Linked DNA regions of Homo sapiens: region 2 is linked to region 1. The links are contacts of gene promoters, found by promoter capture Hi-C in human tissues and cell types (Jung and others, 2019). All regions are on one chromosome and are shown on one strand. The core of a region is centred on a gene start or on the middle of the fragment in contact, and the rest is flanking DNA. Distances in the headings are between cores, read along the strand shown.

Evidence for each region. The method cuts DNA at HindIII sites, captures the fragments that hold promoters and counts their contacts. A contact is called where the count stands out against the background at its distance.
Region 2: a contact is called between a fragment that was not itself captured here and the fragment with the promoter of IL6 in region 1, in 3 of the 25 tissues and cell types used here (H1 embryonic stem cells, IMR-90 fibroblasts and pancreas).

The regions. Positions count from the first base shown.
Region 1 is chr7:22,724,001-22,729,050 of GRCh38, forward strand. It overlaps IL6 (interleukin 6), which reads left to right and starts at 3,200. Exons shown (of 5, transcript NM_000600.5): 1 at 3,200-3,281; 2 at 3,444-3,634; 3 at 4,693-4,806. The coding sequence starts at 3,263. IL6-AS1 (IL6 antisense RNA 1) reads right to left here and starts at 3,620. Exons shown (of 2, transcript NR_131935.1): 1 at 3,568-3,620; 2 at 1,395-2,705. RefSeq lists a silencer at 2,615-2,664 and an enhancer at 2,650-3,849. The HindIII fragment of the contact is 12,372 bases long and covers 1-5,050 here.
Region 2 is chr7:22,807,400-22,812,316 of GRCh38, forward strand. No RefSeq gene overlaps it. Among named protein-coding and RNA genes, the nearest start is that of TOMM7, 13 kb to the right of the region's middle. RefSeq lists an enhancer at 3,815-4,770. The HindIII fragment of the contact is 9,601 bases long and covers 1-4,917 here.

The sequences.
Region 1 (5,050 bases), core at 1,950-4,449:
GGGGGATATATGGGAAATCTCTGTACCTTCCTCTCCATTTTGCTATGACCTAAAGCTGCCCTTTAAAAAATACAAGGGGCTGGGCACAGTGGTTCACGCCTGTAAACCCAGCACTTTGGGAGGCCGAGGCGCGTGGATCACCTGAGGTCAGGAGTTCAAGACCCGCCTGGCCAACATGGCAAAACCCCGTTTCTACTAAAAATACAAAAAGTAGCTGGGCGTGGTCGCATGCATCTGTAGTCCCAGCTACTCAGGAGGCTGAGGCAAGAGAATTGCTTGAACCTGGGAGGCGGCGGTTGAAGTGAGCCAAGATCATGCCATTGCCCTCCAGCCTGGGCAACAGAGCAAGACTCCTTCTCAAGAGAAAAAACAAAACAAAACAAGAAAAAACAAAGAATGAGCTCTCCACGCGAAAAATCCATTGAGATGCAAAGGAAGGAAGCTATCATTGTGGAATTGCACATGTCAGTTACATTAACGTTTTTGGAGCAAGGTAGAGCTCATCTCTCCCACAAGCAAATTCCAGCCCAAAGCATTGATACTAATAAAGTGCCATGCTGCGATGTGCAGGGGGCAGACAGTGTCTCCAAGCTCCCTACACACATGCCTTCCCACAGTTTGCCCTTTCTTGACCCCAGAAGCATCAGGCCCCTTCACCCTCGAGGGCCACTATCAGGAGTTTGAATTAATGGCAATCACCATGCACAGGGAAGGCTGTGGAATTCTGACATAAAAACACTTAGTGGAGGGCTTGGAAAAAGTCTAGTAGGAGCAAGACGCAAGCTGGACTAATTATCTAAAACAAGAGACCTGGTTTGGGGATCTTAATGTTCTCAAAAAAGAAAATTATTATTATTTTTCATTTTGCACTTTGTGCCATAAAACATTTTCAACAAAACATAGAATCTCATTTCTTTTGAGGGAAAATGATTGGGAGACCAGCTCATTGCTGGCACAGAGGCCTGGTTCATTCATAATTCCTTCATAGGCAAGACACCAGGTGAACCGATATAGCCGAGCTGGAAGAGCTCTCCAAGGCAGAGACTCTGAGCCAAGGAATGTTCAAAGAGCTAGCATGTATTGTGGGATTACTATGCGCCAGGAATTTTTTACACTGCATCACGTTCCATCTTCACAACAGCCCTAGAAAGGAAGAACTATTATTACCCCCGTTTTATAGGTGAATAAACAAGGGCACAGGTCCTTGATGTAACAGCCAGGATCAAACAGCTGGGAAGACGAGAAAACCTTTCCCAGGCTAGGATAACAGAGGATTTGGTTGAAAATACAGGCAATTAGGTGCTACCTCTGGGAAAAGGGGCCAGGAGAGGAAGGAGACACTTTTCCCTGCATGCCCTGATGTCCTATTTGAACATTTTATCATGAACACGAACTTCCTATTTAAAAAACACTTTTTATTGAAAAGATAAATCTGTGTGTTGTATTGTGTCACTCAGTTCAAGTACTTGAAATTTATTGAATTGTATTTTCTAAAAAATAGATAGTTGAGTAAAAGCAAGCTCACATTACATAGACGGATCACAGTGCACGGCTGCGGAGCTGGGAGCAGTGGCTTCGTTTCATGCAGGAAAGAGAACTTGGTTCAGGAGTGTCTACGTTGCTTAAGACAGGAGAGCACTAAAAATGAAACCATCCAGCCATCCTCCCCCATTTTCATTTTCACACCAAAGAATCCCACCGCGGCAGAGGACCACCGTCTCTGTTTAGACAATCGGTGAAGAATGGATGACCTCACTTTCCCCAACAGGCGGGTCCTGAAATGTTATGCACGAAACAAAACTTGAGTAAATGCCCAACAGAGGTCACTGTTTTATCGATCTTGAAGAGATCTCTTCTTAGCAAAGCAAAGAAACCGATTGTGAAGGTAACACCATGTTTGGTAAATAAGTGTTTTGGTGTTGTGCAAGGGTCTGGTTTCAGCCTGAAGCCATCTCAGAGCTGTCTGGGTCTCTGGAGACTGGAGGGACAACCTAGTCTAGAGCCCATTTGCATGAGACCAAGGATCCTCCTGCAAGAGACACCATCCTGAGGGAAGAGGGCTTCTGAACCAGCTTGACCCAATAAGAAATTCTTGGGTGCCGACGCGGAAGCAGATTCAGAGCCTAGAGCCGTGCCTGCGTCCGTAGTTTCCTTCTAGCTTCTTTTGATTTCAAATCAAGACTTACAGGGAGAGGGAGCGATAAACACAAACTCTGCAAGATGCCACAAGGTCCTCCTTTGACATCCCCAACAAAGAGGTGAGTAGTATTCTCCCCCTTTCTGCCCTGAACCAAGTGGGCTTCAGTAATTTCAGGGCTCCAGGAGACCTGGGGCCCATGCAGGTGCCCCAGTGAAACAGTGGTGAAGAGACTCAGTGGCAATGGGGAGAGCACTGGCAGCACAAGGCAAACCTCTGGCACAGAGAGCAAAGTCCTCACTGGGAGGATTCCCAAGGGGTCACTTGGGAGAGGGCAGGGCAGCAGCCAACCTCCTCTAAGTGGGCTGAAGCAGGTGAAGAAAGTGGCAGAAGCCACGCGGTGGCAAAAAGGAGTCACACACTCCACCTGGAGACGCCTTGAAGTAACTGCACGAAATTTGAGGATGGCCAGGCAGTTCTACAACAGCCGCTCACAGGGAGAGCCAGAACACAGAAGAACTCAGATGACTGGTAGTATTACCTTCTTCATAATCCCAGGCTTGGGGGGCTGCGATGGAGTCAGAGGAAACTCAGTTCAGAACATCTTTGGTTTTTACAAATACAAATTAACTGGAACGCTAAATTCTAGCCTGTTAATCTGGTCACTGAAAAAAAATTTTTTTTTTTTCAAAAAACATAGCTTTAGCTTATTTTTTTTCTCTTTGTAAAACTTCGTGCATGACTTCAGCTTTACTCTTTGTCAAGACATGCCAAAGTGCTGAGTCACTAATAAAAGAAAAAAAGAAAGTAAAGGAAGAGTGGTTCTGCTTCTTAGCGCTAGCCTCAATGACGACCTAAGCTGCACTTTTCCCCCTAGTTGTGTCTTGCCATGCTAAAGGACGTCACATTGCACAATCTTAATAAGGTTTCCAATCAGCCCCACCCGCTCTGGCCCCACCCTCACCCTCCAACAAAGATTTATCAAATGTGGGATTTTCCCATGAGTCTCAATATTAGAGTCTCAACCCCCAATAAATATAGGACTGGAGATGTCTGAGGCTCATTCTGCCCTCGAGCCCACCGGGAACGAAAGAGAAGCTCTATCTCCCCTCCAGGAGCCCAGCTATGAACTCCTTCTCCACAAGTAAGTGCAGGAAATCCTTAGCCCTGGAACTGCCAGCGGCGGTCGAGCCCTGTGTGAGGGAGGGGTGTGTGGCCCAGGGAGGGCTGGCGGGCGGCCAGCAGCAGAGGCAGGCTCCCAGCTGTGCTGTCAGCTCACCCCTGCGCTCGCTCCCCTCCGGCACAGGCGCCTTCGGTCCAGTTGCCTTCTCCCTGGGGCTGCTCCTGGTGTTGCCTGCTGCCTTCCCTGCCCCAGTACCCCCAGGAGAAGATTCCAAAGATGTAGCCGCCCCACACAGACAGCCACTCACCTCTTCAGAACGAATTGACAAACAAATTCGGTACATCCTCGACGGCATCTCAGCCCTGAGAAAGGAGGTGGGTAGGCTTGGCGATGGGGTTGAAGGGCCCGGTGCGCATGCGTTCCCCTTGCCCCTGCGTGTGGCCGGGGGCTGCCTGCATTAGGAGGTCTTTGCTGGGTTCTAGAGCACTGTAGATTTGAGGCCAACGGGGCCGACTAGACTGACTTCTGTATTTATCCTTTGCTGGTGTCAGGAAGTTCCTTTCCTTTCTGGAAAATGCAGAATGGGTCTGAAATCCATGCCCACCTTTGGCATGAGCTGAGGGTTATTGCTTCTCAGGGCTTCCTTTTCCCTTTCCAAAAAATTAGGTCTGTGAAGCTCCTTTTTGTCCCCCGGGCTTTGGAAGGACTAGAAAAGTGCCACCTGAAAGGCATGTTCAGCTTCTCAGAGCAGTTGCAGTACTTTTTGGTTATGTAAACTCAATGGCTAGGATTCCTCAAAGCCATTCCAGCTAAGATTCATACCTCAGAGCCCACCAAAGTGGCAAATCATAAATAGGTTAAAGCATCTCCCCACTTTCAATGCAAGGTATTTTGGTCCTGTTTGGTAGAAAGAAAAGAACACAGGAGGGGAGATTGGGAGCCCACACTCGAATTCTGGTTCTGCCAAACCAGCCTTGTGATCTTGGGTAAATTCCCTACCACCTCTGGACTCCATCAGTAAAATTGGGCGTGGACTAGGTGATCTCATAGATCCTTCCTGCTGGAACATTCTATGGCTTGAATTATATTCTCCTAATTATTGTCAAAATTGCTGTTATTAAGTATCTACTGTGTGCCAGGCACTTTAAATAAATATTGTGTCTAATCTTCAAAACAAATTTGCAAGGAAGGTTTTTGGAGATAAGGAAACTGAGACTCAGGATTAAGTAACACACCTAAAGTCACAGGTGAGCTTGGAACTGAACCCAAGTGTGCCCCCACTCCACTGGAATTTGCTTGCCAGGATGCCAATGAGTTGTAGCTTCATTTTTCTTAGAGACTTTCCTGGCTGTGGTTGAACAATGAAAAGGCCCTCTAGTGGTGTTTGTTTTAGGGACACTTAGGTGATAACAATTCTGGTATTCTTTCCCAGACATGTAACAAGAGTAACATGTGTGAAAGCAGCAAAGAGGCACTGGCAGAAAACAACCTGAACCTTCCAAAGATGGCTGAAAAAGATGGATGCTTCCAATCTGGATTCAATGAGGTACCAACTTGTCGCACTCACTTTTCACTATTCCTTAGGCAAAACTTCTCCCTCTTGCATGCAGTGCCTGTATACATATAGATCCAGGCAGCAACAAAAAGTGGGTAAATGTAAAGAATGTTATGTAAATTTCATGAGGAGGCCAACTTCAAGCTTTTTTAAAGGCAGTTTATTCTTGGACAGGTATGGCCAGAGATGGTGCCACTGTGGTGAGATTTTAACAACTGTCAAATGTTTAAAACTC
Region 2 (4,917 bases), core at 1,714-4,213, 83 kb after region 1:
AGGATGGAGGAAAGGAAGAGGAGAGGAACACCTCACTTTCCCTCATGTACTGTGGGTATTTGCTAGGAAGAGAAGGGAACCTGGGATGCCTCGCTCTCTCCTTTCTAAATGAGTAGCCATTCATCTTCAGTCTGTATCCCTTTCAAATGCATCCTGAACCCCTGGGACTCCTTTAGAAAAAACACCTTTTTTTTTTTCCTCCTCTGTTATTTCTTCACAGATACGTAATCGTATCTCTGCACTATGGGACACTTCCCTTGGCTACATCCTCTAAACTGGGAAAAGTTAATTTCCCAAACCTTAAACTGGTTGGCTTAGGATTGGGCTTGGGGAAGGGAACCCAGAAGCCTCACATGCCAGCAAAAGGGTAAAGTTTTTGTTATTGTTGTTGTTTTTATCAGCCAGGCTTTTGGCTTCCCTATCCCTATGCAAACTGATAAAAGGCCTCAGGATTTTTGAGCTGTCCTTACCCTCCCCTTGTTTTGTTTTGATACCTGTTTTCTAATAACCCAGTTTGTCTCTTCTTGCCTTCAGGACATCAAACTCGAAACGGTCATACAACCAGAGCCTCAGACAATGGCCCCTTTTGCCAGAGACCCTTAGATAGGCCTCTGTGGGAGTTCTGACTGCTGTCTTCCCAAAACAGCACCCCCTGCCAGAAGGAAGCAGTTAAGATTGATATTTGTCCTCATCCTTATGCTTATCTAATGGCAATTAGATGTACTTCTTTAGAGAAGAGCGTGATAGAGGAGACAGTCAACAGTCACTGGCAAACCTCACCTTCAAGCCTAAAACAGCTCGAAGGCTGAGGGACTGGACTGCTGGTCCCAGATGAAACCCTCGACCCTCAGGGAGAACTGCCCGTTTGCCCACCCTTTCCCAACTGACTCTTTCTGAATAATGCCCACATGCACACTGGGGGAACGGGGTGGAGCCATGGGAAGTTCTCACCCTGTGCAGTGGGGAGGAGCCTGGTCTCTTCAGCCAATGTCTGTGGTGGCCTGCTATTCAATCTGCGAGGTGGGTCGGGGGGTTCCCTCTGTTAGCAGGACCCCCTCTCACTTTGCTGAGTTTTTTTTTTTTCCTTCTCACCCAATAAATTCAGCCCTCCTCACCCTTCAATGTGTCTGTGTGCCTAATTTCTCCTGGTCATGACACAAGAACCTGGATTTAGCTAACTAAGGAGCAAAAATTCTGCATCCGCAACACAGGTTTAGGGTCTTCTATTTTAAAGGATCAGGGAAGCCCTCTAACAAGATGACATTTAGGCAGACTGGAATAGAGGAAGCCAACCATATAGATATCTGGGAGGAGAGAGTTCTAGCAGAGAACAGGTAGTACAGACTACAAGGTGAGACTATACTTGGACTTTCTCTGGATAGGAACAAAACAGAAAGAGTACAAGCAAATGTGGGTGATGAATCATAGGCAACAAAGAGACCAAAGGTGCAGAAGGCCAGATGACATTGGGTCTTGTAGGTCACAGAAAATAAGTACTTGGGATTTCATTCCCAGTGAGATGGGAAATCACTGGAAAACTTTGATCAGGATGTGATGTGATCTTATTTTTAAAAGGATCACTCTGGATGTTCCATTGAGAGCACACTGTAATGCACAGGTGAAAGCAAGAAGGCTACTGCAAGTCTGGGGAAGTTCTCAAACTTGACTTGCATCAGAAGCACCTGTGATTTGTTAAATCACAGATTAATCATACAAAAACCTGTACACAATTGCTCACAGCAGTTTTGCTTGTAACAGCTAAAAATTGGGAGCCCAGATGTCATCCTTGTACATCCATCCCGTGGAATACTACTCAGCAATAAAAAGGAAAAAACTATTTTGATAAATCTACAGAGAATTATGCTGACTGAAAAAAGCCAAACCCAAAAGCTGTCTGATTCCATTTATAGAACTTGCTTGACATGACAAAATTATAAAAGTAGTCAACAGATTTCCTGGTTGCCAGGGGTTAGCGGTAGGGGCAGGGTAGGAGGAGAAAGGTTGACTATATCCCACCATACAAGGGATCCTTGTGGTGATAGATGTTCTTTCTTGACTTCATCAATGTCAATATCCTGATGCTGACCACAGTTTTGCAAGTGTGAAAGGAAAATAAATCTTGGGACACCAAAATCACTAAGCTAAAGGGAAAAGTCAAGCTGGGAACTGCTTGGGACAAACCTGCCTTCCATTCTATTCAAAGTCATGCTTCTGTCCACTGAGATTAACATATATCTGATTGACTCATTTGGAAAGGCTAATCAGAAACTCAAAACAATGCAGCCATTTGTCTCTTATCTACCTGTGACCTGGAAGCTTCCTACCTCACTTCGAGTTGTCCCACCTTCCTGGACCAAACCACTATTTATCTTACATATATTGATTGAAGTTTTGTGTCTCCCTAAAATGTATAAAAACAAGCTGTGCCCCAACCACCTTGGACACATGCCATCAGGACCTCCTGAGGCTGTGTCACAGGTGCACGTCCTTAACTTTGGCAAAATAAACTTCCTAATTAACTGAGATCTGTCTCCGATAATTGGGGTTCACACAAGATATTACCATTGGGGGAAACTGTAAAGGATACAGGGATCTTTCTGTATCATTTCTTACACTGTATACAACTCTACAATTTTCTCAAAATATGCTTAAAATAATGTTTGAGGAAATGAAACACACAGGCATACCCACATTGCTGGGCTTCATCACCAGTTTCTGATTCAGGTCTGGAGTAAGACTTGAAAATGTGCATTTTAACAAGTTTCCAGGTGAAGCTAGTCTGGGACCAGCTATGAAAATCACTTGTTTAGAAAATAATATCCTGGGGCAGGTATTATTGTTCCTATCTTGTGGAAGAAACCTAAAGATTAAGTGACTTCAGCCAAGCGCGGTGGCTCACGCCTATAATCCCAGCACTTTGGGAGGCAGAGGCAGGAGGATAGCTTGGGCCCAGGAGTTTCAGACCTGCCTGGGCAACACAGAGGCCTTGTTCTCCCCACAACAGGAAAAAACAAAAGTGACTTCACCAAAGGTTCTAGAACTGACAGGGCCAGGACTTAAATCAGGTCCTACCAGCTCAGTGTTTTTCCATGAGCTAATCAAGGTCAGGAATAATCTCAATCATAAGGACTCTCTAGTGTCTAGCACAGAACAGAAATCAATAAATGCTTGAATTGTACTGTCCTAAAAACTAAAACTCATAAAATGTGGGAGCTTAAACATTTCACAAACTTTATAATATATACATACACATTAAACTGTGTACTAGTCTCAGCTCTTAGGCTGTGCCCTGAAGAAGTGCTTAAACTCTGTTCCTAGCTTCCGTAGACCTGAGATCAGGGAGCTGGTTCCTTCCTACTTAATTCTGGATGCCTTATTTTAAAATCTTCTGAGGTTTTACAGATAGCTACAAGGTGTGAAAGGAAAATAAATCTCAGGACCCCCAAAATCACTAAGCCAAGAGAAAAGTCAAGCTGGGAACTGTCAGGCCAAACTTCCTCCTGTTTTATTTGTAAATAAGACAGCCACAAAGAAAAGAAGCTACATACCTCCCTCACAATTTGCCCACAGGAAATTTCTTGTGGACAAAGGACAGACAGAACTCAAAGTCATCCCTCTGAGACTCACCTGACACAAATGCATATGACTGCTTCCTCTGCACTATTTATGTAAAAATGCAGACTCATTGAGCCAGACTAAATTGTGTATTCAGGCTGACCAAGGACTCAAAAGAAAGCAACCTTTTGTCTCTTACCTACTTATAACCTGGAAGCCCCCACTTAGAGTTGTCCCGCCTTACCAGACCAAACCAATGTACATCTTAGACATACTGATTTATGTCTCACATCTCCCCAAAATGTATAAAAGCAAACTACGTACCCCGACCACCTTGGGCACACCTCCTCAGGACTTCCTGAGGCTGTGTCATGGGCGCATCCTTAACCTTGGCAAAATAAACTTTCTAAATTGACTGAAACCTGTCTCAGACATTTGGGGTTCACAAAGGTCATCCTTAAAAGAACACAACCAGATGGGGCGCAGTGCCTCACACCTGTAATCCCAGCACTTTGGGAGGCTGAGGCAGGCGCATCACAAGGTCAGGAGATCGAGACCATCCTGGCCAACACGGTGAAACCCCATCTCTACCAAAATACAAAATATTGGCCAACTGTAGTGGCATGCACCTGTAGTCCCAGCTACTCGGGAGACTGAGGCAGGGGAATCACTTGAACCCAGGAGGTGGAGGTTGCAGTGAGCCAAAATCACACCACTGTGCTCCAGCCTGGTGACAGAGCGAGACTCCATCTCAAAAAACAAAAAAATAAAAAATAAAAAAACCACAACCAGTTGTTTACCCTTCACATTACTATGTAATCAAAACAGATACCTGACACAGCTTTCTCAATTTCTGAAAATCCCAAGTGAGAAACAGAAGAAAAACGTATAAACAAAATACTTACTAAACAAAAATTCCCTGACAATGCACTTGGCAAAAAGGATTGGGGGGAACTACAAACTTAAGCAATTCTATGGAATTTTAATACAGTTTTCAGCAAAATTACACACGCCTAGATTCACAAAGATGCTGAAGCAGTTACGTTAAGTACTTACCAAAACTGATTTCCTGCAGTTAGCTCTCAAGAATTCCACTTTAAAATCCCTTTATGCAACAAGACACCACAATAGTCTTCTATGTCTCCATGGCAAAGGTAACAAGCCTTGAGGAAATAGGCTTAAATAGCTAAGAGGGTTTTACATTAGAAATAAGAACTTTCTGGTGATGGCAGCTCCCAGCACCTGAGAGGGATTATAGTCATGATCATGCCTAAACACTGGATGCTTAAAATATTCAACCCAATAGGCTCTTTCCAAACTGTCCGTTTCAGGTTCTACTTTCTTGTATTAGTAACAATGGCC